7 separate regions of the Homo sapiens genome follow, and regions 2, 3, 4, 5, 6 and 7 are each linked to region 1. Evidence: promoter capture Hi-C in human tissues and cell types (Jung and others, 2019). All regions are on one chromosome and are shown on one strand. The core of a region is centred on a gene start or on the middle of the fragment in contact, and the rest is flanking DNA. Distances in the headings are between cores, read along the strand shown.

Region 1 (3,746 bases), core at 198-2,697:
CCTTGAATTCATGGCAAACACCAGAGGAAAGTTTTCAGGTTGCTTGCTTACTTCCAGGGCAGTACAGAGAAAAGCGGCCTCCCCGAGGGGACAAGGGCCTCTGTGCCCATGAGGGGTCGGACATTGCAGCGGACTTGCCTACGCTCTCATCTAGCATTTGATTCCCCACCAGGAGATGGGCTTGGTGCACGCTCTCAGAAGCGCATCCACCGAAGGCTCTGGAACTGCCCCGCTTCGCATAGAGCTATTGTGCTGCCCTGCAGTGTATCCACTTGTTTTGTTTGTTTGTTTGTTTTTTGGTTTTTGCTTGTTTGCTGATGGGCAGTGGGGAGGTGCGAGGGTGGAGGGCCTTCTTTGTGCATATATAGCGATAGTCTGCACTAGGCCAAGCCCGCTACTCCTGGGAGAATGGGAACACGCAAATAATCTAAACAAAGTTTTCTGCTGTCATCTTGTGAAGGACCCTCTCCCCCAAGACATCTATGACTGGGGTCTATGGGTTAAGGAGGTGAAAAAGTGGCCCCATCCCATATCCATAACTGAATCACAGAATCCGTGGGGATTTGAACTGAGTGGCTGGCGCAAGACCTCCGTTTGCTTCCAGTAGCTGCTGGGAGCGAGGGAAGAGGATATCGGTAACTTTGGGGGCGCCAATGTGGCTTCTGTGTCTGCCCCTTGAAAGTTTATACCCGGCGCTTAACAAATCCTTTACAGGAGCACGTACGTCCCTGACCTTTCAGGATACTGTTTTATATTAAAACATGGACAGGAGGGTAGAAAAGTAAAATTCGCCTGCAAAATGGCTTGTCATCCTTGGGCCGGCAGATCTCCAAAACCATTTTCTTCTAAAGCAACAAAAGAGAAAAAAATACGTTCTAAAAGGAAATTACGAAAAGAGCCTAACTTTCCTAAACCAACATCACTTCACTCCCCTATCCTAAACTCCACCCAGGTCCGGGGTGCAACCGCAACACTCCCGTAGGTTCGAGTTCTCCCGGAGCTGAGCTTCTGCGGCCAAATGTCGGGATAAAAGCGGCCTTGGGCTCGGAAAAACGCGGCCAGATCTGGACTGGAGGGAGGAGAAGAGAGAGAAGCGGAGCGGCCACCTCACTCGCTTACAGGCACCCCCACCCTCACTCCCGCTGGTCCTCCCCTTCTCCGCCCCGCGAGCACCGCCGCGTTCTGGAGCGCCGCAGTCTCCAGCCGCGGGCTGGGGTAGCGGAGAGGGCTTGGAGGAGGGGGCCGCGAGCGCCCCCGCGAGAGTGGCCTGGCTGCAGGTGGCAAGGAAGGTGAAGTGCAGGCACCCGAGGGGCGCAAAGGAGGAGGAAGGCGTGGGGCGGGGAGTGCAAGGAGACAGGGACCCCAGGGGCGGGGGTGGCGGTGGGAAGGAGGAGGGGTTGGGGGAGGGCGGCGGAGGTGTTGGGTCCGGCCGGCTCACGAGGGAGCTGCAGAAGAGCTGGCTCAGACCTTAATCAGAGCTGTCGCCGGCTCCTTGCAGCCGCCGCAGCGCCTCCGCGAAGGAGGACGTGCCGACCCGGCTGCGCGCCCAAGGCAGAGGCCCGCGTCGGCGTTGGCTGGGCGTGAGCTGGGAGGCCGAGCTGTGAGCGCGAAGGGAGCTGGAGAGACGACTGCGGCACCTCCGGCCGCCCCGGAGCACACACGACCACCGGGGCTGCGGGACCAAGGGCCGCGTCGCCCGGAGGCCGCCCCTGAGCGGGCCTCGCAGCCCCGCCGTCCAGCGCTCCCTGGCCCTCTCCCGCAGCCAGGCTGCCAACTCATTCGGGAGCCCGGGGCATGAACGGCTACGGCTCCCCCTACCTGTACATGGGCGGCCCGGTGTCGCAGCCGCCACGGGCGCCCCTGCAGCGCACGCCCAAGTGCGCGCGCTGCCGCAACCATGGCGTCCTGTCCTGGCTCAAGGGCCACAAGCGTTACTGCCGCTTCAAGGACTGCACCTGCGAGAAGTGCATCCTCATCATCGAGCGGCAGCGGGTCATGGCTGCGCAGGTGGCGCTGCGCCGGCAGCAGGCCAACGAGAGCTTGGAGAGCCTCATCCCCGACTCGCTGCGCGCTCTGCCAGGGCCCCCGCCGCCGGGGGACGCCGTCGCCGCCCCGCAGCCGCCGCCAGCCTCTCAGCCGTCGCAGCCGCAGCCGCCGCGCCCTGCTGCCGAGTTGGCCGCGGCCGCCGCGCTGCGTTGGACTGCCGAGCCGCAGCCCGGGGCTCTGCAGGCGCAGCTCGCCAAGCCAGGTAAGAGCGTCTGAGGTGCGGGAGTTTGGCCGGGCGCGGGGGCAACTTCGGAGTGCCAGCTGCAGCTCCACTTGGGAGGACTGGAGGCAAAGTTTTGGGACGTGGGCCTGTCGGGGCTTTCCTTCCTACTCTCCGCCAGGCCGGGGCTTCCTCTCCCGGGAGAAGCCGGCTGAGTCTGGACCCAGCGCGAGTGGCACTCGCGCCCGCAGGGAAGGCGCCTCCGGGCAGCCAAACGACGGGACTGTGCGTCAGTATCGCCAGGTGCCTTCCCAGGTTGAAGGGTTCGGAACGTGTCAGATTGAGCAGGGAGACAACGGAGTTGAGACAGGACAAAATTAAAACCCACGTGCGCACACTCACTACGGTGGGGTCGGATTTTCCTGGCTGCAGGCTTTAGAGGTCCTTGCCATTTGGGGGTTGGAATGGGTAGGTAGGTGTAGGGAAGGAGCCAAGGCCAACACTCGGCTGAGTCGAGCTGGCTGTGCTTCTCGGCCGGCCCGGCCCTGCCCAGGGCCCAGGAAAATTTGAGTGAGGACAAGTATCCAACTCTCAGAACCCTGGCCTTTCTAGCTTTGCTCCGTGGCCTCCAGACTCTTGTAACTGGTGAAATAAGTTCCATTTAGCAATGATAGTAAAAGGGTCCGGAAAGGCTTGTGAGCTGATAGCGGGAAAAGAATCTGATGCGCCCAGAATTCACTCCTTTGCAGAACCTCCTAGATCCTTTAACACTGTTCCCCAGGCTGCCCTCAGCTGTCTTCGTGGTTTAAAGGAATACAAAAAATCTGATCCCCCACCACCCATCCGTTTCCATCCAGGCCTCCTGAGCTTGGCAGGCCTGAGTTGAGTCTCTTAGTCTCTCTCTTCCTGGGGAATTTCTAGCTTGCGGTTCTGCCCAGCTCAAGAGCTCTTTTGATGGCTCTTGGAATTCAGTGGATATGTGTTTGGTGTTTCTCCTTAACTGGGGCAAATGTGCAAAGGAACACAGCCCACCTTCTCCCGGAAGGGGGCATGCTGGAATTAGGAGTGGGAAGGTCCAGAGCCCTCCTGTAAGTAGAACTGTGGCAAAACTGGTACCTACACTGACCTGCCAACTCCCTAAAGACGGTACCCCTAGCTTCGGAGAAAGGCTTTCAGGAGCCCAGGACTGCTTTGTCTGGATCCTGTGGAGCTGAGGAAGTGAGGCGGACTCACCTGTTTCATGGTGAGTCAACGGGTGACTGGCAGGTGGAGTTCTGCTGCCCTGTCTTTCCGCCATGCTTTCCAGGCCTGAAGCTCTGAGAACAGCCTGTGTGACAGTAGAGCTGGGAATTTTAAAGCCTGAAGAGAGTTTGCCGAACTTGGATTTTGTGGATATTTAATCCAAGTTAGCATATAAACGTTTCTCAGAAATGATCGCCAGTTGTCTCTCTTTTGTCTGTCTCATCTTTTTATATTTATGGATTTGTCACAGACGAAGAGGAGGGAGGAGAAAAAGGTTTTATTATTTTTCTCCCATAGG
Region 2 (4,243 bases), core at 1,022-3,521, 600 kb before region 1:
TGGTGAAAGGGAAAGTAATATCGGGTACTCAAAAGTATTAAAATTTCATGTCTTGTAAAGATATTCTATACTTTGTCCTGACAATTCTGATTAATGGGGAAATTGCTGGGATCTTAATTTATTTTAATTCCTAGAATCCAGAATCATCAATGCTGGTTTGGAACTTAGAGACAGATTACACCGTTCAGCCCTCTTCTCACAGCATGAGAACAGAACACTAAGGCCCAGAAAGTTTAGTTGAGTCGTCTAAGTAAAAATAACTAGTTTGAAGCGGGGCACAGTGGCTCACACCTGTAATCCCAACATTTTGGGAGGCTGAAGTGGGCAGATCACTTGAGCCCAGAAGTTTGAGACCAGCTTGGGCAACATGGTGAAACCACATTTCTACAAAAAATAGAAAAATTAGTTGGGTGTGGTGGTGTGTGCCTGTAGTCCCCGCTACTCCAGAGACTGAGACGGGAGGATCATTTGAGCCCAGGAGGTCGAGGCTGCAGTGAACCGTGATTGCACCACTGCACTTCAGCCTGGCGACAGAGTGGGACCCTGTCTCAAAAGGAATGAATAAATACATAAATATTAACTAGTTTGGTGTAGAATTGAAGTTGAATCCAGGGCTCCTGACTCCAAGAACAGTTAGATTAGTTTTCAAGAGAGTTCTGTATTTGTATAACCCTGACATTTCCAGTCAAGTTGGTCTGCATTGCTTGTTAGTAATCAGAAAAGGGAATTGGATTGCTAATCTTTTTTTTTTCTCTTTAACACAGAAAGTCCCATTACAGAATCCTCCCATTAAGTGGGCTGAAGGACATAAGGGAGTATTTAATATTGAAGTGCAAGCTGTTTCTTCTGTACACACCCAGGTAAGGAATGTCAAGGTTAATCATGAAGGTAAAGGTGCAGCGGAGGAGCCTTTGAAGGACAGGCCAATAAAAGATCAGTGAAAATCCTTGTCTACAGATAAATAAAAAATAACCCTTTAGTTCTTTGTGGGGACATGCAAACCTCTTTAGGTTTCATTTGTCATTGGAATAGAAAGACCTTACAAAACCGCCGAGCACCTAAAGGAAAGAACCTAGTATCTGCACTGTTGGTGGAGAAACTTTGCAGGGGGACTTGATTTGAAACTCTCATCTGCTGTTACTTCTTTTCCCTCTGTAACTCTGCCACTTTGCCAGCTTTTAAAAAGAAATTCCGTACTCTCTCCTTTACCTGCCACTGTCTGAGTTCTGCATCTGCTGAGACCTCTCTCTTGGCAGTATGCTTACCTGGTACGCTGACCTCTGCTTACAGAACATGTCAGAGCCAAAATTATTTCTTCTTTAGCTAATAATTATTGAAACGTTCAACTTCATGCACCACATTCTACAAAGAAGTTCATAGCCTCGGTCTGAAACATCATGTCTTAGACCTTCTGGTCTGAAACGCTGGATAAGAGGTTCTACCCATAAAGAGCTATTCGATTGTGTTTGTGAATCCACTGGTGAACATTGATGGTATAAAACCCCATGAGGCCTGCCTTCTCCCTTCGCAGGACAACCACCTGGAGAAGTTCTTCACCCTCTGCCACTCCCTGGAGAGCCAGGTGACCTTCCCCATCCGCGTGCTGGATCAGAAAATCAGCGAGATGGCGCTGGAGCATGAGCTGAAGCTCAGCATCATCTGCCTGAACTCCTCCCGCCTGGAGCCGCTCGTGCTCTTCCTGCACCTGGTGCTGGACAAGCTCTTCCAGCTGTCCGTGCAGCCCATGGTCATCGCTGGCCAGACAGGTATGAACCTGCAGGGCTGGGCTGGGAGGAGGCAGGAGCAAGCAAGCATTGCCTTCTTTAATGAAAAATGACTTTCCAGAAATCCAGAGACAATGTGATCTTCCTTTCCACTGATGATGTGTGCTCAAGGGAGGCCAAGTCTTATGCTATTTTTTTTTTGAGACTCTCTGCATGTTGGAAAGAAAAAGAAACATTAAAATAGGGTTCTTAATATTATAGCTTTTTGTAAACTTTATTAAATGATTATAGGCAGTCTTTAAAATTCCATTTCTGGTAATTGATGAATTTATTTTACCTTGAAGATATTTTTGTTTTCTTGACTAACAGGAAATGGAACATTTTAAGGTAAGACAACCTGTGTTAAATGGAGGGAAGGAACTCTCTACATTGAAATGCAATGCAATCAATTTTTAAAGTTAAAACATAAACTCACTATTTTAAAGTGTATAGTTCATTGGTTTTTAGTATAGTCACAAGGTTGTGCAATGATCGCTACAATCTAGTTTTATAACATTTTCATCACCTCCAAATAAAACCCCATCACTCCCTATTCATCCCTCCCCCTAGAACTCATCCGTTCTCTCTTACAGTCTATTTTAAATGCTTACTTTTAACAAGTTAACACTAAATACAATGTGTACATTTTCCCTTAGAAATAATCTCAAAAGCTTATCCTGGAGGCATGACCAGAGTCCAGTGGTTCTCCTAACTCTTCCAGGGTAGACTGGCTGGTATAGGGCATCTTTATTTGCCACCATTTTCAGCTGTGCCTATATAGCTCTTTGCTTTCCAGTCCAGCAGACGTCTTTTGGGTACCATCCATATGCCCAGTACTGTACTAAAAGTTGTAGGCTTTGTGACAATAACCAAGAGCATCTCAGACCTCAGAGGACTTATAATATGGCAAAGAGTCAGCAGCACAGGACAAGACTCCTCAAAGGGACACAGCTAAATTTTGCAGTGGTTGTGGGGAGGGTGGTATCAAAGGAGAGAGTGAGAAAACATCCATCTGGGAGGATGCAGGAGGTCCACATAAAGAGATGGCCTTGAAGAAGGGATAGAGTGAAAACCGACAGAATAGGGGCAATGAGATGAGTGCAGCACTGCAGAGAACCAGAAAAGTGTGGGAGTGTCAGGAAGAAAGTCAGTAGCACAGTTGGTGGTGGAACAGAAGCACGTGTGGAAGTGGGCTGGGACAATGAAGTGAGACGGCTTTTAGAGCCAGGGAGGGGCATGTCCCCTTAATCTCTCACTCTGCTTTGCACCCTGATATGCATCTTCTGTGGTTCCACAGATCAAACGTCCTGTGTTGGAGGCTAACTTTTCATCCATGTAGCAGTTGCCTCTCCAGCTAGATTCTTGCAGAGCTCTGCCCTCCTTCGATTACTTTCTGTGCCCCCGCATATGTGGCACACTGCTTTGTATGTTCCAGCTAGTTAATACAGACTTGTTCACCAGACAAAAATATTTATATGTTTTGAGCAGCTTCTCCATAGCAAGTTGCCACCTTGTGGTGTGAGGACCACAGGGTGTTGGCATAGGCAGAATAAGTGGAGGTGGCTAGTCTACAAGCATTTATTCAGAACCTATTCTGTGTCTCTGCAATGGAAAGCACAGTGGGGGCACAAAAGATGTGAGAAATGCACTTCGCATGGGAAGGATTCCAGCTTTCACAGACAGACAGTTTACCACCAGACATGGCTGGAGAATCATGTAACTCAGTTTCACTTGAGCCCTGTACTGTGTGGAGTCAGACGGCTTCATGGAGGAGGTGGGACTTGTGCTGAGATTCACAGGGTCGGTATGATTTTGTGGATGGGAGTGAGGAGGGCTTCCTAGGCGAGGACAACAGCATGAGCAAAGTCTCAGAGGTAAGAGAGCAGGCATGATGGGACAATACAATGACTGCCTCATTTTAAGGGATGTCGAACTGAGCCAAAAAGGGTACAAGGTTAGATAAGTATATTGGAGCCAAACTATAGAGGCTTAGGGCACCAGAACAAGAGGTTCTATGCAGTAAATCAAATGTGTATGGGCCCACTGTGGGAATGACTTGATATGCAGACATTTTTAGGTTAATCTGTACAAGAATCAGGGTTGTGCAGCACATCTCAAATCATAGTGTCCACAACAGTCACGTGAGCATCTTGTAAAGATGCAGAACCTGATTAATACACTCTCTGGGGTGGGGCCTGAGATTCTGCATTTCTTAGTAGCAAGCAGGTGATAGTGGTCGTGTGTGTCCGCAGCCCCCACTGAGTAGCATCAGTTTACAACCTGGCTTAGAGAAGGAGGACGTCTGGACAGTCTTATGTCTTTGTCATTAAAAACCATCAATGCTATTCAGTGGCAGGAGGAGGAAGTTCAAAAGAGGGAATGTGGAGGCATCTGTGGTACTCAGAGCCAGCATGCCAGAGCTCACCAAAACCATCTACCCTTCCCAGGCCTAGTTAAATTGGTCAGCGGTCAGGACTCAT
Region 3 (3,768 bases), core at 866-3,365, 650 kb before region 1:
AAATTACTCTTGTCACTGCCATTGCTGCCCCTGAAGAAGAGAAAAGAAGGATGGAGGAGGCCTGGAAGTTTGATACATTGCTTCTGCTAACAATTCACTGGAGAGAATTGAGTCACATGATCACCCCTCATTGCAAAGGAGGCTGGTAAATGTAGTCTCTGCCTGGGCAGCCACTCACCACTAAAATTCTCATGGTGATGAAGGAGAGAACCCAACCATACAGTGGCTCTTAAGTAATACGACACTAAGAGAGCCAGGAGCACTGTTCACATCATGCTCTTGCTCAGAATCTTCACTAAGATTCATTCCCTACAACCAGGCTTTCTTCATGATGGCATTCCTCTACCTTCTTTCCATCCATAGTCTATGCAGAGTCAAGCTAGACCGCTGACTAAGCTTCCCCCAGCCGTTCAAGCCTCTGAGATATTTATTCATACTCTAATCTCTCCCTGGCACATCATCACCTTCCACCCCTGCCTATCAGAATCTTCTAAGGCCCATCCATCTCCAGTGCTGCTTCCATGAAAAGTTGTCCTTGTCACCCAACTGCAAATGGCCTGTCACTCTGGAACTTCCACAGTGCTTCTTTGTATGCATGTGGTGACTTGTATTTTGCTTTTACTGTAGTTAGTTACATGTTTACCTTTTCCCTCACCTTTTTTTTTTTTTTTTTTTGAGTCAGGGTCTCACTCTGTTGCCCAGGCTGGCATGCAGTGGGGCGATCTTGGCTTACTGCACCCTCTGCCTCCCGGGTTCAAGTGATCCATCCTCCCACCTCAGCGTCCCAAGTCGCTGGAACCACAGGCACATGCCACCATGCTGGCTAGTTTTTGTATTTTTTGTAGAGGCAGGGTTTCACCATGTTGCCCAGGCTGGTTTCAAACTCGTGAGCTCAAGCAATGTGCCCGCCTTGGCCTCCCAAAGTGCTGGGATTACGAGTGTGAACCACCACACCCAGTCCTTCCCTCATTCTTGATTGTGAATTAATTGAGAGCAGAGGTCCTCCTCTTCTGTAGTGAAGTAACTGATACTCAGGAAATACCGGTGGGTTAATAAACATTTAAATGTTTCAAGGAACATCTCTCAAATGGCTCCAGAATACCTAGACATTGTGACAAAACATTTGTCAGATTTATCCAGGAGCCACTTTCCTAAACCACATCTGTGATTATTACACTTACTCCTTCAGCAAAATTTCTCTGTGGTGTTTTTACTCCTTTTTAACATGTTTAAACCATGAATGCAACAGGTCTAACTTATATTTCACTTTGCTGCTCATTTACAGATCTCAGAAAATTTTCACTGTGACCTGAACTCTGACCAGTTCAAAGGATTTCTGCGAGCTCACACGCCTTCAGTGGCCGCATCAAGTCAGGCGAGATCTGCAGTCTTCTCAGTCACCTACCCGTCCTCAGACATCTACCTGGTAGTCAAGGTAATTCAGTACGATCTGATTTGCCCAATCTGATGTTTTCATTGCTGTGTTGTTCCCAGCACATGTTTGGGGTGCACGCAATCTCAGAATGTGTCCACATATCCTCTGAGATTCACTTTGTTTCCTTCTCAGTTTACCCCTTTTCCGTTCTAAGTAAACTGTTTCAGATACTAGAAAGACTAGGTTTTGGAGACACACAGACCTAGGTTTGAGTCCTGGCTTTACAACCTAGTAATTAAATGGCATTGGCAGTTTCCTGGTCTTTCTGAGACTGAGTTTCCTCATCTGTGAAGTGGAGATAATCACACTGACCTCAGTGGATAGTCATGACTACAGAATAAAGCTTGGCACATCTTGGGCACCCTTCTCCTAATTAAGGAGAGTTCCCTCAGTGACCTGGTGCAAAGAAGCTGCTGTGGAGAAAGGAACAAAATCTCTGGGCTAGAGTTTCCTAACGATGTTCATGTTGCTCTAGAGATGCATAGTTACGTGTTCCCAAGTCCAGCCTCTTACAAGCTGAAGCGTGGGCTGTGGTTTTCAAGTTTCATCCTCCTTTTTTTTTTTTCTTCTTACCATGTCACAGACTGTCTCTAATGAGAGTTGAAATCTATGGGGCAATTGTAAGTAGAAGAGCCTTTCATTCTAGGCTATACTCTTTGCTGTTGTAAGAAAACCAGATCCTTTCTCTGTACACCAAAATGACTGGTTAGAAATTAACAAACATCAGGTATTTTACCTACCTTAGGCCAGATAATTGGTCTTATTGATTCTTTTTTTTTTTTTTTTTTTTTTTTTTGAGAGGAGTTTTGCTCTTGTCACCCAGGCTGGAGTGCAGTGTCACCATGTCGGCTCACTGCAACCTCCACCTCCCGGGTTCAAACGATTCTCCTGCCTCAGCCTCCCGAGTAGCTGGGATTATAGGAGCCCACCACCCCAAACCAGGCTAATTTTTGTATTTTTAGTAGGGACAGGATTTCACCATGTTGGCCAGGCTGATCTCAAACTCCTGATCTCAGGTGATTCACCTGTATTTGGTTCCCAAAGTGTTGGGATTACAGGCGTGAGCCACTGTGCCCGGCCGTAAAATCATTGTAAAAACAAAACAACAAATTCAGGTGTCTGATTTCATGTGCCCCCAGCCTCTTAGGTTTGGAACATTATCTAGTTAGTACAGTGTTTTATGTCTGTAGTCTCAGTGATCGCCCCATGATCTCATGGATTCCAAATAATTCAGGTAGCTTTGAGGTCACTTAACAGATGGCAAATGTCTTTTCACTCTAGCTTCTTTAACACCATATAACAAAGATTATGAGAGGTTACTGTAGCTTGAGGGGAACTTATTTAAGCTTATAGAAGTATAGTTAAAATTATATTGCTGAAAAGACACTTCTATTGTTGTCAAACTTCAATGTGTCTCCTTTTCGTTGCAATATTACTTAGACATACAGGAAAATTAAAGCCCACTATGATAGCCCTGTAGGTAAGTTCACAATTCTCTGTCAGCCTAGGAAACTGAAGAAGCCAACACTAGTTCTATAGAGCCAAATTTTATCTCAAACTCTACTTCCCAGTGGATGACTTTCTCTTGATTAATCCGTCATATTCTGCCAAGTAACAGTGGTTACCCATTGGTTCCTATCACTTACTAAATATGTTCCAAAATTTTCAAATGTATAAATGTGTTCATTTGGCATAACAAACATACTAAAGTGTTTGGATAGGTTTAAGAAATTGAAATCTACTCAGCAAGACAGCCCCTGGTTGGCTTTCTGTTTGCTTTTCTTTATCGTAATGCCATCATTGTTGCTTCTTTCCCTTTAAATATATAGTAAATGGTGTTAAACTATTTAGCACATCCAGGCAGACATTATTTGGTAAGAGGGGCTTCTTTCTTTTTTGTTTATATTCCCAGGCCGAACATCAGGGTCTTTACTGTATTTTAGGTAGCATCATCTAGTTCAGGTGTTGCATATAATACGGCTTTAAGGGATTATTTCCGCTTAAAAGTTTAATTCAAGATTTTGTGAAATTTTTTTTTAAAAAGAATTTGTTTTACAATCAAGGAAAGAAGAGTGAAAATGGGATTGAATTGGAAACTTTTCAAAAATTGTTTAAAAATTGGTATGCCGTGCCCAATTTAAATATTTCATAAGTTGCGATGGGCCTATCCTTATGTAAGGGCCACATAGTTTGAGAAAACACAAAGCAGAGAGCCTAGCACTTTAGAAGTCTTGCAGATGTTAAATTTCCCATCTTAAAGAGTTTACAATCCAGTTAAAAAAACAACTTGGCATTCAAAGAAATGGGTTCAAATTCCTATTTTGCTACATTTG
Region 4 (3,917 bases), core at 529-3,028, 710 kb before region 1:
TTTATATAATTTTTTAAAATCCACTTACTTAGCCCAGGCACATAAATGGAAAGAAAGATATGCTTAAAATTATGTTATTTGCAAAAACAAATATTTAGATGTTTTAGAGCTAGTATGTTTTTGTTGGTTTCTAGTTTAGTTCTACATGGCATCAGACTAGCTACTCTATATGATTTCTGGACCTTTGCAATTTGTTAAGATTTGTTTTATGGTCGGGGATATGGTCAATATGTAAATGTTTAATGTGTGCAAGAAGAATGTGTACTCTGAAGTTAGGCATAGTGTTTTCTGTATATGTCAATTAGCACAAGTCTGTTTATCATGTTCAAGCTCTGTGTATCTCTGGGTTTTTTTAATCTGCATGATAGAACAGAAGTATGTTTGAAACTTTTATTGTAGTTGTGGATGTAATATTTTTCCTCTACTTTTGCAGTTCTTGCTTTATATATTTTGAGCCTATATTACTTGGTACATACATATTTAGAATTGTTGTGTCTTCCTGGTGGATTGCCCTTTGATTATTTAGGAAATGTCTCTCTCTTCGGTAATGCTTCTTAAAGTCCATTTTGTCTGATAGTACTATAGCTACCTCAGCTTTCTTTTGGCTAGGTTTCATAACTTTTTAAATTCTTTCACTGTCAGTCTTTTTATGTCCTTATATTTAAAATGTGTCAAAAGAAAGAAGGAGAAAGAAAGAAAGAAAGAAAGAAAGAAAGAAAGAAAGACACCGCGATTTACCTATGTTACAAACATGTATATGTAACCCTAAACCTAAAATAAAAGTTAAATATAAATAAATAAAGTGTCTCTTCATGAAAACTTTCTTAGCATCATTAGTCATTAGGGAAATGCAAATTAAAAACACAATGAGATACCACCACATACAACATGTCTAGTATAATGGCTAAAATGAAAAATACTAACAACACCAAGTATTGTTGAACATATGGAAAAACTGGAACACTGATTATGGGAGTATACAACCATGTTGTAAAACACTTTAACTGGTCATTTACCCAAGAGGAATGAAAGAATGTATCCATATAAAGATTTGAACACAAATGTTTACAGCAACTTTATTTGTAATAGGTAAAAACTGAAAACAACTCAAATGTCCATAGACAGATGAATGGATTTAAAAAAAACCATGTTATATCCATACAAAGGAATACTCCTCTATAATAAAAGGGAGTAAACTACTAATACACAGTGCAATATAGATGGATTGCAAAATGATTCTGTTGAATGGAAGAAGCCAGACCAAAAAAAGAGATATATTGTATGATTCTATTTATGTAAAATTCTCGAAAATGCAAAGGATCTACAGTGACAGAAAGCAAATTAGTAGTTACCAGGAGACGGAGGGTAAAAATTAAGAAGGGGCATGAAGAAACTTTTTTATTGTAGTAATGGTCTCATGGGTCTATACGTATGTCAAAGCTTATCTAATTGTATACTTTAAATATGTGCAGTTCATTGCCAGCTAATTATACTCAATCTGTTTTTAAAAGTAAAATGTGCTTCTTATAAGTAACAATTTTTTAAAATGTAGTCTGATGACCTTTGTCTTTTAATTAGAGAATTTAATCTGTTTACATTTAATAACTGATATAGGCAGGGCACGGTGGCTCCCGCCTGTAATCCCAGCACTTTGGGAGGCCGAGGCGGGTGGATCACCTGAGGTCAGGAGTTGAAGACCAGCCTAGCCAACGTGGTGAAACCCCGTCTTTACTAAGAATACAAAAATGAGCCGGGCGTGGTGGCAGGTGCCTGTAGTCTCAGCTACTCAGGAGGCTGAGGCTGGAGAATCGCTTAAACTGGGGAGGCAGAGGTTGCAGTGAGCTGGGATTGCACCACTGCACTTCAACCTGGGTGACAGAGGGAGATTCCATCTCAAAAGGAAAAAAAAAAAACCTGATATATTTGGGTATAAATGTTCAATCCTACTGTAGGTTTTTTTTTCCATTTTGCCCACTTGTTTCTTGTTGCTATAGTCATTACAACAATACATGTTTGACTTATTAGAATCCTAGTATTAATTAGTACTTTTACCATTTCCCAGATGATATAATATGGGCTTTAAAACACATGAAATCCGTTTACCCCTCAAACCTTTTGTGTATCATTGATGTTTTAATTCTATGTATATTTTAAACTTCACATTATTATCATTATTATATTTATATTGCACAGTCACTATCATTTAGATTTACTTATGTTTACCCTTTTGGTGTATTTCAATGCTTTCAGCACTTCTGTGTTTCCCTTTGGGATTGCTTTTCTTCTGCCTCAAAAACTCTCCTTACTATTTATTTTAGTATGGCTCTGCTGGTGATAAATTCTCTCCATTTTTGTTTATCTGGTAAAATATTTTTCCTTCATTACTTATGAAGAATATTTTCACTAGGTAGAAAATTCTAGATTGTTAGTTATTTTATTTCAGCACTTTGAAGATGTCATTGCATTGGTTTGTGGATTTCACTTTTTCAATTGAGAAGTTAATTTTGTTGGTTGCATTATTACACTTTGAAGATAATGTGTCTTTTCCCTGGATGTTTTAAAGATTTTTCTCTTTGACTTTCAGTAGTTCTACTATGATGTGTCTAGGTTTGATTTCCTCTGTATTGATTCTGATGGGCATTTATAGAACTTTATGAAGCTGCGTCTGGTATTTTTGCCAGCCAGTATTTCTTTAAATATTACTTCTGCTCCAGTTTCATCTCTCCTCCTCCTTTGGGATCCAGCTTACACAGGTTACATCTGTTACTTTATGACTCAACACACTTTTCTGGAAAGACTCTCTTTTCTTTAAACACAAGACACTAAATGGTTACAGGTGTTCTTTTAGGTGATTATGCTGCTTCATCAGCAGATGGTGATTATATCAAGAAGGAAACTTATATGATGACATATAAAAGCTGGGGAGAGGAGATGTCTCTGAAGACAGTGAGAAATCCTTCTCTAGTCTTGCTGCTGGAACCCTCAAACACTTAAGTCATCTAATAAACATTCTACTGTCTTCAGAGGAATTTTCTCAGTGAAAGGGATTTGGGACACCCCTGTGAGGAAGAAACATAAGTTCCATGCCTTCCAAATAAGGGGCAAACTTTTCTTTGTAGTCATGTTTCCACCTGTTGAATCCGTTTTATGGAAGTTGTACAGTTATGGCTTGTCTGTTTATGAGAAGAGATAGAGAATATGAGAAACGATAAAACCTGAAATAATCCATTGTGAGGCCACAGGCTGAAGAACTTACAAGGAATTTATTCTAGACTTTATGGCTGAAAATATGTATGCATATATGTATATGAGTGTATGGAGATACAGTTATGGATAGAGATCTATAGATATATGTGTAGATATATAGATACATAAAGTTTGCTACAGAAATTCATTTTGTACACTTTTAAAAGTGCACTTTACTAAAAGCATCCAAGAATGCATCTCAGAAAAAGCCTTAGATTTCTTTTATGTGGTCAACTCCAGGAACTACTCACTCTTGAGATAGATGTGTGTTTTCAGAGCTTATCCATGCCATGCACAATGATCTAACCCTTTGATAGCTGCATCATTCAAAGTCAGTTTTTCTACATGCAACAAATTTTTAAACCTTGATTTTTATTTATTTATTTATTTTGAGACAAAGTCTCGCTCTTGTCCCCCAGGCTGGAGTGCAATGGCGTGATCTCAGCTCACTGCAACCTCCACCTCCCAGGTTCAAGCGATTCTCCTGCCTCAACCTCCCGAGTAGCTGGGATTACATGCACCTGCCACCAAGCCAGGCTAATTTTTGTATTTTTAGTAGAGACGGGGTCTCACCATGTTGGCCAGGCTGGTCTTGAACTCCTGACCGCAGGTGATCCACCCGCCTTGGCCTCCCAAAGTGCTGGGATTACAGGCTTGAGCCACCGTGCCCG
Region 5 (4,129 bases), core at 172-2,671, 630 kb after region 1:
AGTAGATCTAGGATGGGGCTCAGTAATATGCATTTCTAACATGTTCCCAGGAAATTTAGGAAAGCAATGCCGCTAGTCTTGGAGCCACACTTTGAGAATCTCTGCTTTACCATAATGGTCGTTCTTCTAAGGAACGTATGTAAAGGTTGTATGCCATGATTTTCAACACTTTTGCTGACCACAGGTCAGCTCATTTCACACTTTAGACCATTTTTTTTCATATGGACCCACAGCTTCTTATGTAACTGCATATTTGTACCATGTCTTGTCTAGCATTTACCTAAGACATCAAGAAAAAAGATTTTTTTTTGTTTTTCCTTTCTTTTCATTTTCTTTTTCTTCTTTTTGTAATTGAGATTAAAAAAGGAAAAAGAAGAACCTGACATGGTCTGATAAACATGACTGGTTAACACATCTGATTAAATAAATAACACCACAAGCTTTGAAATTTGCCAATTGCCATTATATACTGAAGCCTTAGAAAGTGTCCAATTATTCTTATCTCCACTAAAGTTTCCACTTGCTTCCACATCTTCCTCTAATTAAAGCGTGTTTTCATCAATAAATAATATGCAGAGTAGAAAATGTTATTGTATTATTTTTGTTGTTATTATCTATTTTGTTGAAAGCAAGCATAGAATCTCATAAACACATTATGTGTTAAGGAGATTTTGAGAAGCCATAAACATAATTTATATTCTTATTTCTCTGTGGAACAGGCTCTAACTTCTAAAATATATCAACTTATAAGTGACCTTTGGAAACTATCCATTTATAAGTTTATAAATGCTCACACAAGGCTTTGGCGATTCAGTTGCCTTGTGTTACCTATAGGAATCATAAAAGAGAATTAATAAAAAAAACAGCAGAGAAGCAGGTCTGTGGTGCTTAAGACTGTTACTCACAACCAAATGGGAGAATGTGGCTTACCCTATAACTTTCAGAATTGTCATGGTGGTATTTTTAAAGGCCTTATCTTTTTATTCAACGTTAGGAGCATTTTGAAAATAAAACTACACAAACAACTGTTCCTCCTAGTTTTATCTTTTCAAAAAAAACCCCAAAAACCAAAAAGCTTCATGAGACATTGATGCATGTGCAGCTTCCTCAGAGCCAGTGTGCAATCCATCCGTCACTTCCCCCCAGCAATTATGTCTCAGACTCTAAAACAGGAAGCTCGAGTATCCACTCTCGATGGAGATGAAAGATGTGTGGAGAATGCCCTGACGCCACCTTTTCAGTGTCTCCACAGCTAGAATCACTTTATAGGCCAAGTGAAAAACTACTGAGGACTAATTTGTCAACAAAGACTTTCTTTGAAGTTAGGCAGACAAGTGGATTCAAAACAATTGTATGTGTGAGTAACATTGGGCATGCTTTTTTTTTTTTTTTTCTCCTGGGAACAGCCAGGACTTTTGACACAGCAGAGCTACAAGTGTGGAACATTGATTTAGTAGGACCTTTGTGACTGACAGTCTCTTAGATCTCTCAACCTCTGGAAAATAAGGAAAGCTTATAAGGTAAACTGAGGTGTTGATGCTTCCTACGTCTTTTTCAAGGTTTCTTCTGTGAGGAAAGATGGAGCCATAATTCTCCTCTCCATTCAACCCTGAGACCCAGCTTCTGCAGCCCTAGCTGGGATAAGGTATTGGTTTATGGAAAATGGATATTTAAGATCATAAAGGTATTGCTGACACCCATTTACCCAAAGACACAAGCCCTGGAAGGAAACATGGGAGTTAATACCCTGTTATGTCTCCATGGGTCTTGGGATTCTGGCTCCAACAATGTTGGGATGTTTGTCTCTTACTGAGAGTGAAATTCTTTGGAGATAAGGTTATGTGACTGAGACTCAAGAATCTGGTGCTGAGCTGCACCAGATTGCTCTGGCCAAGAGTGTTCTCTTCATATGCTCCTGTAAGGTAACTAAATCCTTATCTCCTAGGAGCAGCTGCTGTGTTGCATATAACCGAGGATACCAATCATGCTGTAATCAATATAATTCAAATTTAAATTATCCAGCATTATTCCTGCTTGCAATTCACAACCAAACTCATCAGTGGCAAAGATTTCATCATCTTATCAGAAAAACTCTCTTCGAATGTATTAGACTCATTATACTTGTGTACTTAATTCCCACCAAGACCCAAGTGGAATTATCTTCAAATCAGCTTGTTTATGATAAGCAGTCCAAAATGACCTCAAAAATCGTGGACAAGCCTGAAAACCTGAGAAGGATGACAGTCTTCTACCAGGAGCAAGGGATTTTCCAGGTTGGGTCCCCTTTTTGTCTTCTTCCTTCTTTGCCTTCAGGGCAGGATTTCTACCAACTCTTGGTATTCTTTGGTTCCAGAGCCCTCCCTTTGCAAAGCAGCTCCGATATCCTTACACTGGGGAGAGTCCAGAGAGTCCAGGCCTGCAGTGCAGAATACCAGTGCCTCTCTGTGTCCGGAAGGCAGCACGTCTGTATTTATCATGGTCGGAATAATATCAGCATATGCAAAAAACAACTGCTGCCTTCAGGTCTCCAGCACCCAAAAACAAAAATAAGTCCAACAAACCTAATATATTTTCCAGTGCGTGTCCCAGAAGGTTGAAAAAACTCCTTAAATTGCTTTTCTTTCCATTTTTATGGCCCTGGAAGGGGGGAATATCTATCAAATTTAATATATGCATTTTAGTTTGTGACACTTTCAGATTCAGCCATATCTGTAATGAAAACAGAGCAACCTTTAAAATTAAAAAAAAAAAAAAAAGTCCTTTCTACCAGAGACATGGCCTGAATCAGGGCCAAAGATTTCAAGCTGGTGAACCAGCAAAGGAGTCAGATAAATCAGAATGAGTGTAACAGATCTGATCTATTTCAGCTCAGATTAACCTCTTTACTATGTCTTCAATGGCCAAAAAGCCTGGGTCACAGGAGTAAAAATGTCTAATAAAGCAGAACCCTGGGGAAAAAAACTAAAAGAAGTGAATCGCATAAAGAAAAGTGAGACGTGTGACCATGGCAAAACATGACTGGCTATGGTGAGGATTGAGAAAGGGGAGGGAAACATTCTTTACCATGCCAGTCCAAGAGGCAGATTTATTTCACTTGTATATAATAATTCTAGATCCCAGTGACAATTTACATTACTTGACAACAGCTGCTTATAGGTCAGGTAACAATAGCACTGAATAATCTCATAATGAACAACTGTGGATTTCACATTGGTGTTAATTGCATTTCATGCTCTTTGAAAGCCTCAAACAGGCAGTGTGAAAAACACAACCAGGTTCTTCTTTGCTTATTTTTTTTCCCCCGGGAGAAAGCCTTTCCAAATCCTCAAAAGGAAGGTGGAGGGTGAGAAGATGATCATGCGTCATGGACCAAGAAGGCCTTTCTGGGCCAAAGTTTGTGGATGTTTTCTAAGAATGAAGGGTACCCATTTAAGCTAAAAGGAGTGGGAGGAAATGGTAAACCAGTCCATTCTTGGGGGCTGACCAGGACTGAACAAGATTTTGTACAGGATGAGCAGGGAAATTAACACACAGGGTTTACCCACTCTGTGTCAGTCGTGTGTTTGGTTTAATTCTGCAACTTAAGTGTTACAGTGACTGGAACAGCCCAGATCAAATTCCAGTCCTGTAGGCTTTGGCTGGATGAGTGTGCTAGATCAGTGTTTCTCATACTTTAAAGTGCATATGAATTACCTAAGATGTTGCCAGAATGCAGATGCTGGTTCAGCAAGTCTGGGGTGGAGCCCAAGATTCTGCATTTCCAAGGAGCATCCAGGTGATGCTGAATGCTATCAGTTTTTGGACCACATTTCCAGAACTGGGCTATAAACTCAGGCCTTTCAACAGTTCTAAGTGTTTCTGATTCTGAGCACCATTAAAATTGTAGACTCTCTGGGACAGGAGATGTTACACCAGATGGCCTCCTGTAATGCTGAATGCTTCAATGCAAAGTTAAGTTGGGCCAGTTTCTGATTCCTTTTCCTCATAATTCATTAGGGTTACTCCAAAAAATTTATTGTGCTGTGACCACTAGCTTTGTTTACATTTTCCCAATAGATATTCTCTAACTTACCTGTGGACACTCTAGAGACAGTTATGACAAGGCTTTGGGTATGTGTCAAAGTCTGTG
Region 6 (4,232 bases), core at 332-2,831, 610 kb after region 1:
AGGACAGGTTAACTATCTGTAATAAGCAAAATAATGTTTCCTGCAAAGATGTCATAACCTAATTCTTGGAACTTGTGAATACAGTTACTTTAAATGTCAAAAGGGATTTTGGAGATACGATTAAGTTAGATTATCTTTGATTACTTTGGTGGGCCAAAACTAATTATTTGGGTAATGTAGGACTTTTACAGAATTGTAAAATAATAAATTTATGTCAATTTAAGCCACAAAATTTGTTTATTTGGTAGAGCAACAATAGAAAAATAATACACTATTTCTGTAAAATACCCTAAATTTAAGGTAAGGAAAAAAGAGATAAAATAATCAAGGCATAAGAGACTAGAAATTCTCAAGAATATGCTTTATTCAGTTCTTAGAAATTCAGCAAGGAGCTTAGTGTCCCTAAAATAAGAAGAATAAACCCAGAGATATACCAGCATCAGAATCTAACAGGAAGTCAGTGTTCTAGTGATAAGATCAAACTAATGGTCCATAAAAGAATAGCTCTACTTCCATATGGACTTCGGGGACTGAAAGGCCTGATTGAGCAAAGTCTTAGGGATAGAAGTAGGGTCCGTTGTCAAGAGCCTAGGACTTAATGAAAGTTGGGTTTAATACTGGTAGCATTATTTATTAGCTTTATGAATTTAGGAAAACTCCAAAACTGGTCCAAGCCTCAGTTTCCTCACCTGTCAAATGACAATATTAAACATGCATTACTAAAGAGGATGTCATGAGACACATATGTAACCTCAGCACAATTCTGTGCACAGAATAGCATTAAGTAACCACTTTCCATTTTCATTATTCTTACTGGAAATGAATTGATATTACTGGACTCTAGCAAACTAAAATAGAATAGCTGTAGTAGATTAATTTATTTGATCTATCAAAGGGTTTTTCTGTGTATCATATACTATATCAGGCACTTGGAATAGAGCAATGAATAAAACATAGTGCTACCCCTCACTAAGCTTAGTGTCTCCTAAACAATAGTTCTTTTTAAAAACAATAGGGTGATTTAATGTTTTCAGCCAGTGACAGGGAAACTGAGTGCTGAAAATATAAACTTCTGATATACTTCAAGAGCATATAGTCTATGTCATAATATTAATAATATATGATCATTGTAATGAAAACCATACATAAATGTTTATTGAGCTTTATGTTATTTAGAAAGTGACAGCAGAATGTCATTTATTAATGTCAGACAATTGGGAAATCATGATGTTAGTGGGCTGTTTGGGGAAGTGCTGTATTTTCTCACTGCAATTTCTCTGGGCCCAAGTTTACCATTAGAAGTAAGTTTGTGCCAAAATCTCAACAGATGTTAAAGATAAAATTTGACAAAAGAAAAAAATCACTTCACTGAACCAGCAAATGGGTGAAATGGTTTATATTGAGAGAATGATTTAAACTTCCTCAAGCAGTATATGAAGATAATAGTTCTTATTTTGAAGTTCTGCTGTAGAAGGAAGACAGGATTATCAGGACCAAATGAGAGGGGCTGAAAGCAAGAAATTCTACATGTACACTATTTAGGGCCAGTATCAGCCCATGCAGGGGCAAGGAACAGAGTGATAGTTTCTTGAGAGCTGGTTAGTTGTCATAGGGCTGACATTATCACAAGCATTGTCCAGAGATAACCTAGGACAGTCATAGCAAATGTTGCTTGTATATACTATTTAAAATGTTTTCTTCCCCCCCCTTTTTTTTTAAAAAATTATACTCAAGTTCTGGGACACGTGCAGAACATGTAGATTTGTTACATACGTTTACATGTGCCTTGGTGGTTTGCTGCACCTCTTAACCCGCCATCTACATTAGGAATTTCTCCTAATGCTATCCCTCCTCTTGATCCCCAATAGGCCCCAGTGTGTGGTGTTCCCCTCCCCTGTGCCCATATGTTCTCATCGTTCAACTCCCACTTGTGAGTGAGAACATGCAGTGTTTGGTTTTCTGTTCCTGTGTTAGTTTGCTGAGAATGATGGTTTCTCGCTTCATCCGTGTCGCCACAAAGGACATGAACTCATTCTTTTTTATGGCTGCATAGTATAAGGAAAATGTGGCACATATACAGCTTTTACTTCTTACTTGTGGAGAATTTAGGGCCTTCTTGGGTCTTTCTTGAGTATGTACGTAGCCCTATGCAAGAACATGTCTCTGCATGTGAGGGCCCTTCTAGATTCGTAGGAAAATGTCAGATCTTTCCTATGCTTTAATAGATGGATCCGACAAGCTTTTTAAAAAGTGTTTTGGTCAACACGTCCTTTCACAACCTGAAGCAATTGCCACTAATTATTTCAACAAATATCCCTGGGCAAAACTGTGTTTATACTGAAAGAGCTCTAACACAGGTCACATACAGACAAGTATTGGGAGTAGGATTTTCCAAGGAAATGCCAGACAGGCCAAATAATGACAGGTGAGAATGGAGCTTTGTAGGAATTCCAACCCCAAATACATTCTCCAGTGGCTGCTAGACTACTGGTTTCAAGATAATTACAAGGCTATTGGTTTTCAAGGCTACCACAGATGGGAAGAGGAAGATGGGGATAGGGTAAGTTGAAACATCACAAAACTTAATGTTTTTACTGAGAATGTCATTTTTCTTTCTTTTTTTTTAAATTATACTCTAAGTTCTAGGGTACATGTGTACAACGTGCAGGTTTGTTACATATGTATACATGTGCCATGTTGGTGTGCTACACCCATTAACTCCTCATTTACTTTAGGTATATCTCCTAATGCTATCCCTCCACCCACCCCACGACAGGCCCTGGTGTGTGATGTTCCCTGTCCTGTGTCCAAGTGTTCTTATTGTTCAATTCCCACCTATGAGTGAGAATATGTGGTGTTTGGTTTTCTGTCCTTGCAATAGTTTGCTGAGAATGATGGTTTCCAGCTTCATCCATGTCCCTACAAAGGACATGAACTCATCCTTTTTTATGGCTGCATAGTATTCCATGGTGTATATGTGCCATTTTCTTAATCCAGTCTATCATTGATGGACATTTGGGTTGGTTCCAAGTCTTTGCTATTGCGAATAGTGCCGCAATAAACATTCATGTGCATGTGGCTTTACAGAAGCATGATTTATAATCCTTTGGGTTTATGCCCAGTAATGGGATGGCTGGGTCAAATGGTATTTCTAGTTCTAGATCCCTGAGGAATCGCCACACTGACTTCCACAATGGTTGAACTAGTTTACTGCCCCACCAACAGTGTAAAAGTGTTCCTATTTCTCCACATCCTCTCCAGCACCTGTTGTTTCCTGACTTTTTAATGATCGCCATTCTAACTGGTGTGAGATGGTATCTCATTGTGGTTTTGATTTGCATTTCTCTGATGTCCAGTGATGATGAGCATTTTTTCATGTGTCTGTTGGCTGCATAAATGTCTTCTTTTGAGAAGTGTCTGTTCATATCCTTTGCCCACTTTTTGATGGTGTTGTTTGATTTTGTCTTGTAGATTTGTTTAAGTTCTTTGTAGATTCTGGATATTAGCCTTTGTCAGATGGGTAGATTGTAAAAATGTTCTCCCATTCTGTAGGTTGCCTGTTCACTCTGATGGTAGTTTCTTTTGCTGTGCAGAAGCTCTTTAGTTTAATTGGATCCCATTTGTCAATTTTGGTTTTTGTTGCCATTGCTTTTGGCATTTTAGTGAAGAAGTCCTTGCCCATGCCTATGTCCTGAATGGTATTGCCTAGGTTTTCTTCTAGGGATTTTATGGTTTTAGGTCTAAAATTTAAGTCTTTAACCCATCTTGAATTAATTTTTGTATGCAGTGTAAGGAAGGGATCCAGTTTCAGCTTTGTACATATGGCTAGCCAGTTCTCCCAGCACCATTTATTCAATAGAGAATCCTTTTCCCCTTTCTTGTTTTTGTCAGGTTTGTCAAAGATCAGATAGTTGTAGATGTGTGGCATTATTTCTGAGGGCTCTGTTCTGTTCCATTGCTGTATAGCTCTGTTTTGGTACCAGTACCATGCTGTTTTGGTTACTGTAGCCTTGTAGTATAGTTTGAAGTCAGGCAGCGTGATGCCTCCAGCTTTGTTCTTTTGGCTTTTGGATTGTCTTTCCATATGAACTTTAAAGTAGTTTTTTCCAGTTCTGTGAAGAAAGTCATTGGTAGCTTGATGGGGATGGCATTGAATCTATAAATTACCCTGGGCAGTATGGCCATTTTCACAATATTAATTCTTCCTGTCCATGAGCATGGAATGTTCTTCC
Region 7 (3,843 bases), core at 1,344-3,843, 760 kb before region 1:
AGGTAAGAAGAAGATGTGGGGAAAACTAGAGCATTTAGGATAATTGATGTATGGTCTGAGATAGAAGTCAAGGGAAGAGTTGTATAAAGGTGAAAAACAAAATTGAATGACACAAAGATACGGAGAAAGAGGAAGGCCAAGAGAGACCATCAGATGCGGAAAGAAGGAGGCCTCCCAGAGTTCTCTCTGGACAGAGGGCTGATGGAAAACGAAAGAGGCAGTGAGAATAAGGAAGAAAGGCACTTGGATGGCTATTTGCCAGCAATATGTGAATGTATCTAACAGCAGATCAAACTTGAAAACAGGCATTTGACTAAATTAATGGATAACACATTCATGGTGAATTGTTAAAAGAGTGTTAAGGAAATCTGGAGACAATTCTAACCATCAAGAAATTGACAGCACAGAGGATAATAATGCTGGCCTAACCTTCATGGTTAGGTACCAAATACTAAATCTATTGCAGTATGATCTGAGGCAAGATGGAAGGTTTTATGATTCCCACATTCACCCAAAAAGTTTCCTTGATTGCAAATGCTGAAAATCTGAGATGCTTTCATTACATTTTATTTATGTTTGTGTGAAACCAGTATATTTTTGTTCTATATGAAAATGTATGTCATAAACATTCAGAAATTCAGAGGAGTTCATCCGAAAGGCTGACATGGTACACCGTGGACCGAAGCCTCTGGGGCAAAATGTTTTCTATGTATCATTCGTTGAGTCTCAGTTTGAAGAAGTACTTACACATTTGTTCTCTTTGTATTTTGCTATCCAAATGTTTGCTCATAAATTCCAATGTAGTAAATAAGGACAGTTTTGAAAGTCAGAAACTCTAAATTTCAAAAAAGCTTTATTTTTCTTTGGGTTTGTTTTCGTATGTAGTCTATTGTAGTCTATGCAGTGAACTTTGTCTTATATGCTTAAAAGGGCACTGATATTTGGTGGGCATTGGGGGGCGGGGAGTTACCTAACCAGTACTGAAAAGTTACTAAACTACCTGACACAGCTGAAACCAGGAAGGAAGGCTGTATCAGGAAGAGACTGAATATAGTCCTTAGGTGGATTTTAGTATTAGGTGACAAATTAGGTTGTATTGGACTGGCACTGTCCAATAGGAATATAATGAGGCTCACAAATGTGAGCCACATGTGTAATTTTACATTTTTAAAAATGCAAACCACATTTTTAAAAGGGGAAAACAAACAGGTGAAATTAACTTTAATAATATATTTTTTATATCCAAAGTATCATTTAACATGCAATCAACATGAAAATCATTAACAAGACATTTTACACGATGTTTTCTGCGCTGTCTTTAAATTCCAGTGTACATTTTACACATCCAGCAGTGGGCAATTCAGACTAACCATAATGCCGAGTGGTCAATAGCCACATGTGGCTAGTGGCTATCATATTAAATAGTGCAGGTTTGAACCAAAAATACTTCGCTTTGGTTGTTTTTTTTTTTTTCTTTTAGACGGAGACTTGCTCTGTCGCCAGGCTGGAGTGCAGTGGCAGATCTCGGTTCACTGCAAGCTCCGCCTCCCGGGTTCAAGTGATTCCCCTGCCTCAGCCTCCCAAGTAGCTGGGACTAAGGCGTGCGCCACCACGCCCGGCTAATTTTTTGTATTTTAGTAGAGACGGGGTTTCACCACGTTGGCCAGGATGGTCTCGATCTCCTGACCTCGTGATGCGCCCGCCTCGGCCTCCCAAAGTGCTGGGATCACAGGCGTGAGCCACCGCGCCCGGCCTGCTTTGGTATTTTTTAAGAGCAAGTTGGTAAATGGAGGCATTATATGGAGAGTGCTCGAGTATATATAGCACAGGTTAGAGCAGCACGCCGGCACCTTGAAGCGAACACGGGCTCCTCCACTCCCGTCAACACTGGGACTTTTCTGTTTTTATCTTGAGTTTGAGGCCGGGCTTCTTAGCAGACCTCAGTCTGAAACTGAAATAAACCTGGACGCAGCGTACCCTTGAATCGCAAGAACGCCGCCTTCAGTGTTTCTCCGGAGAAAAGCATTCACGCCAGGTTGTGACGAAAACATTTTTTGAGAACTCATAATGTTTATTCCTTGGATGAATCCATTATATTTATTTAGTGTCTCAGGAAGGATGATGGGCATATTGCTTGCAAAAGTTGATTTGAATCCTGATAGATTCCACTAACTTTTTTGTCTTTTTTTTTGGCTGCCTTCTTCGAGAATGGTGTCAACCCTTAATAACACCTAGCCTTACGAATCCCTGGGGTGATTCCCGACCTCGCCAGCTTTGTGGGGCTCCCCCGACTTGCCTACATTCCCTGGCAGCCTCGCAGCTTCGGGCAGATGGAGCTTCCGGCCTGCGCGCAGTGGTCGCCTGTCGTCCGCCCGCGCTCCCTTCGGCCGGAGGTCGGCGGCCCCGGGCAGAGCGCGCCGTCTGCCCCAGTATCGGGAGGCCAGTTCCGCGCTGGGCCCACGCCCTCCTCGCCCGCCGCTGCCTGCGCGCCAGGCCGGGTGGCGGAGCCGGCCGTCGCTGCTCCGAGCTCGGACCCTCCCCCGGGGTGATTTCGGCTTAGAAGGTGGAAATGCGGAAGTTTCCAGCGCCGACCGACAGACGAGGTTTGCGCTTGGCTGGGCATGTTCCGCGGCTACTCTGCGGCGCGCCAGGCCCCCGCTTTCCGCACCCCGCGACCCTAGAAGCCACCGAACCGCCGGCGGGCCATGGCCACTCTGCCGAGCGCAGAGCGCCGCGCGTTCGCGCTCAAGATCAACAGGTAAGACGCCCCCCGCGGCGCGCAGGTTGCGGCCGGACAGCCCAGCGCTGGTGTGAAGCGGAGCTTCGCTGCAGGGGCCGAGGCCGGACGAGTCCATTCGCGTCCGCGGCGGGGCGCGCCTGAGACCTGGGGCGCCCGGTTCCCGAGGCTGCGGCGGTGGAGCCGCTGGACGCGCGGCGGCTCCTGCGCTGGGCCCGGCGAGGTCCTCCCCAAGAATCTCGGTGCTCCTGGATGTCCTCAGCCGCCGGGGATCCCTTCCCCGAACAACCTCGCCCGCTCCGCCCTCCAGGTTCTTACAGGTGGCCGGGTCCCAGAAGGGTGATAGGCGCCTGGGTAACCGTGTTGGGCGCGCCACGGAGTGTCTCATAAACGGCTCCTTCCTTTGAGGCAAGTCTGAGCGCGGGGGGAAGAAGTGAAGTGGCTGAAATTAGAGTTGCGTTTGAGGCAGGCTGCAAGCCTTCTGTCGTCCTGAGCAAGGCTCCGTCCTCGCCTGCTTCATTATTCCAGAAAGAGCTTGGCTCCTGGTGGCATCGCTATTTTTATACCCTGGTCCAAAGGAGCCATGAAGTGGAAAAAGTGATTTTTTAAAAAATCTACACTTAAATAAACCAAAAGAAATGGCCTGTGGCTGACATTTTGAGATTTACAGAACTCCAGCAAAAAGCTAAGGACTGGGGGATCCCAACTCACCATCCAATTCCTAATCAAAGTTGCACAAACTAAATATGTAAGCACATTTACTGCTCAAAGTTCTCAGTAAAGGTGCTTTAACTGCAGTTTTTCCTCCACTAAAAACTGCTGACAAGTAATTGGGACATTTTTGTCTTGCCCTGAGAAAGCTAGACTGTCTAGTTAAAAGATAATAGGAAACTCATTCTAAAGTGTCAACTTATTCTATTGCCCACAGGGCTGTCCGATTTGTTAATCTTCACTTAGCTGAGCCTGTGAAAGGTGGATTCCACCGTAGGTTCATCTTTGTGCTGTTAGTGTGTGAAGAGGTTTGAACAAGGAATTAAAAGCCTAGAAAAACAAGGCGATAAGGTCTTCTAGAGGGCATATCGAGCTTTATTGACGATTTTATTTCC

What was found. The method cuts DNA at HindIII sites, captures the fragments that hold promoters and counts their contacts. A contact is called where the count stands out against the background at its distance.
Region 2: a contact is called between a fragment that was not itself captured here and the fragment with the promoter of DMRT3 in region 1, in 2 of the 25 tissues and cell types used here (lymphoblastoid cells and mesendoderm cells).
Region 3: a contact is called between a fragment that was not itself captured here and the fragment with the promoter of DMRT3 in region 1, in 4 of the 25 tissues and cell types used here (IMR-90 fibroblasts, aorta, dorsolateral prefrontal cortex and 1 more).
Region 4: a contact is called between a fragment that was not itself captured here and the fragment with the promoter of DMRT3 in region 1, in 6 of the 25 tissues and cell types used here (IMR-90 fibroblasts, adrenal gland, aorta and 3 more).
Region 5: a contact is called between a fragment that was not itself captured here and the fragment with the promoter of DMRT3 in region 1, in 2 of the 25 tissues and cell types used here (hippocampus and lymphoblastoid cells).
Region 6: a fragment that was not itself captured here is called in contact with the fragment with the promoter of DMRT3 in region 1 in 3 of the 25 tissues and cell types used here (H1 embryonic stem cells, dorsolateral prefrontal cortex and mesenchymal stem cells).
Region 7: the fragment with the promoter of DOCK8 here is called in contact with the fragment with the promoter of DMRT3 in region 1 in 5 of the 25 tissues and cell types used here (heart left ventricle, heart right ventricle, mesendoderm cells and 2 more).

The regions. Positions count from the first base shown.
Region 1 is chr9:975,208-978,953 of GRCh38, forward strand. DMRT3 (doublesex and mab-3 related transcription factor 3) reads left to right here and starts at 1,448. Exons shown (of 2, transcript NM_021240.4): 1 at 1,448-2,248. The coding sequence starts at 1,795. RefSeq lists enhancers at 1-81, 614-1,115, 1,116-1,615. The HindIII fragment of the contact is 20,406 bases long and covers 1-3,746 here.
Region 2 is chr9:375,446-379,688 of GRCh38, forward strand. It overlaps DOCK8 (dedicator of cytokinesis 8), which reads left to right. Exons shown (of 48, transcript NM_203447.4): 19 at 765-860; 20 at 1,532-1,766. Among named protein-coding and RNA genes, the nearest start is that of DOCK8-AS2, 93 kb to the right of the region's middle. The HindIII fragment of the contact is 6,287 bases long and covers 1-4,243 here.
Region 3 is chr9:326,737-330,504 of GRCh38, forward strand. It overlaps DOCK8 (dedicator of cytokinesis 8), which reads left to right. Exons shown (of 48, transcript NM_203447.4): 9 at 1,286-1,435. Among named protein-coding and RNA genes, the nearest start is that of DOCK8-AS1, 110 kb to the left of the region's middle. The HindIII fragment of the contact is 5,602 bases long and covers 1-3,768 here.
Region 4 is chr9:261,312-265,228 of GRCh38, forward strand. All of the region lies in intron 1 of DOCK8 (dedicator of cytokinesis 8), which reads left to right. Among named protein-coding and RNA genes, the nearest start is that of DOCK8-AS1, 48 kb to the left of the region's middle. The HindIII fragment of the contact is 9,940 bases long and covers 1-3,917 here.
Region 5 is chr9:1,605,280-1,609,408 of GRCh38, forward strand. No RefSeq gene overlaps it. Among named protein-coding and RNA genes, the nearest start is that of SMARCA2, 410 kb to the right of the region's middle. The HindIII fragment of the contact is 3,037 bases long and covers 1-2,940 here.
Region 6 is chr9:1,580,837-1,585,068 of GRCh38, forward strand. No RefSeq gene overlaps it. Among named protein-coding and RNA genes, the nearest start is that of SMARCA2, 430 kb to the right of the region's middle. The HindIII fragment of the contact is 5,889 bases long and covers 1-4,232 here.
Region 7 is chr9:212,272-216,114 of GRCh38, forward strand. DOCK8 (dedicator of cytokinesis 8) reads left to right here and starts at 2,594. Exons shown (of 48, transcript NM_203447.4): 1 at 2,594-2,758. The coding sequence starts at 2,706. DOCK8-AS1 (DOCK8 antisense RNA 1) reads right to left here and starts at 3,479. Exons shown (of 1, transcript NR_160804.1): 1 at 1,186-3,479. RefSeq lists silencers at 2,349-2,598, 2,609-2,658, 2,709-2,758, 2,929-3,068. The HindIII fragment of the contact is 11,669 bases long and covers 1-3,843 here.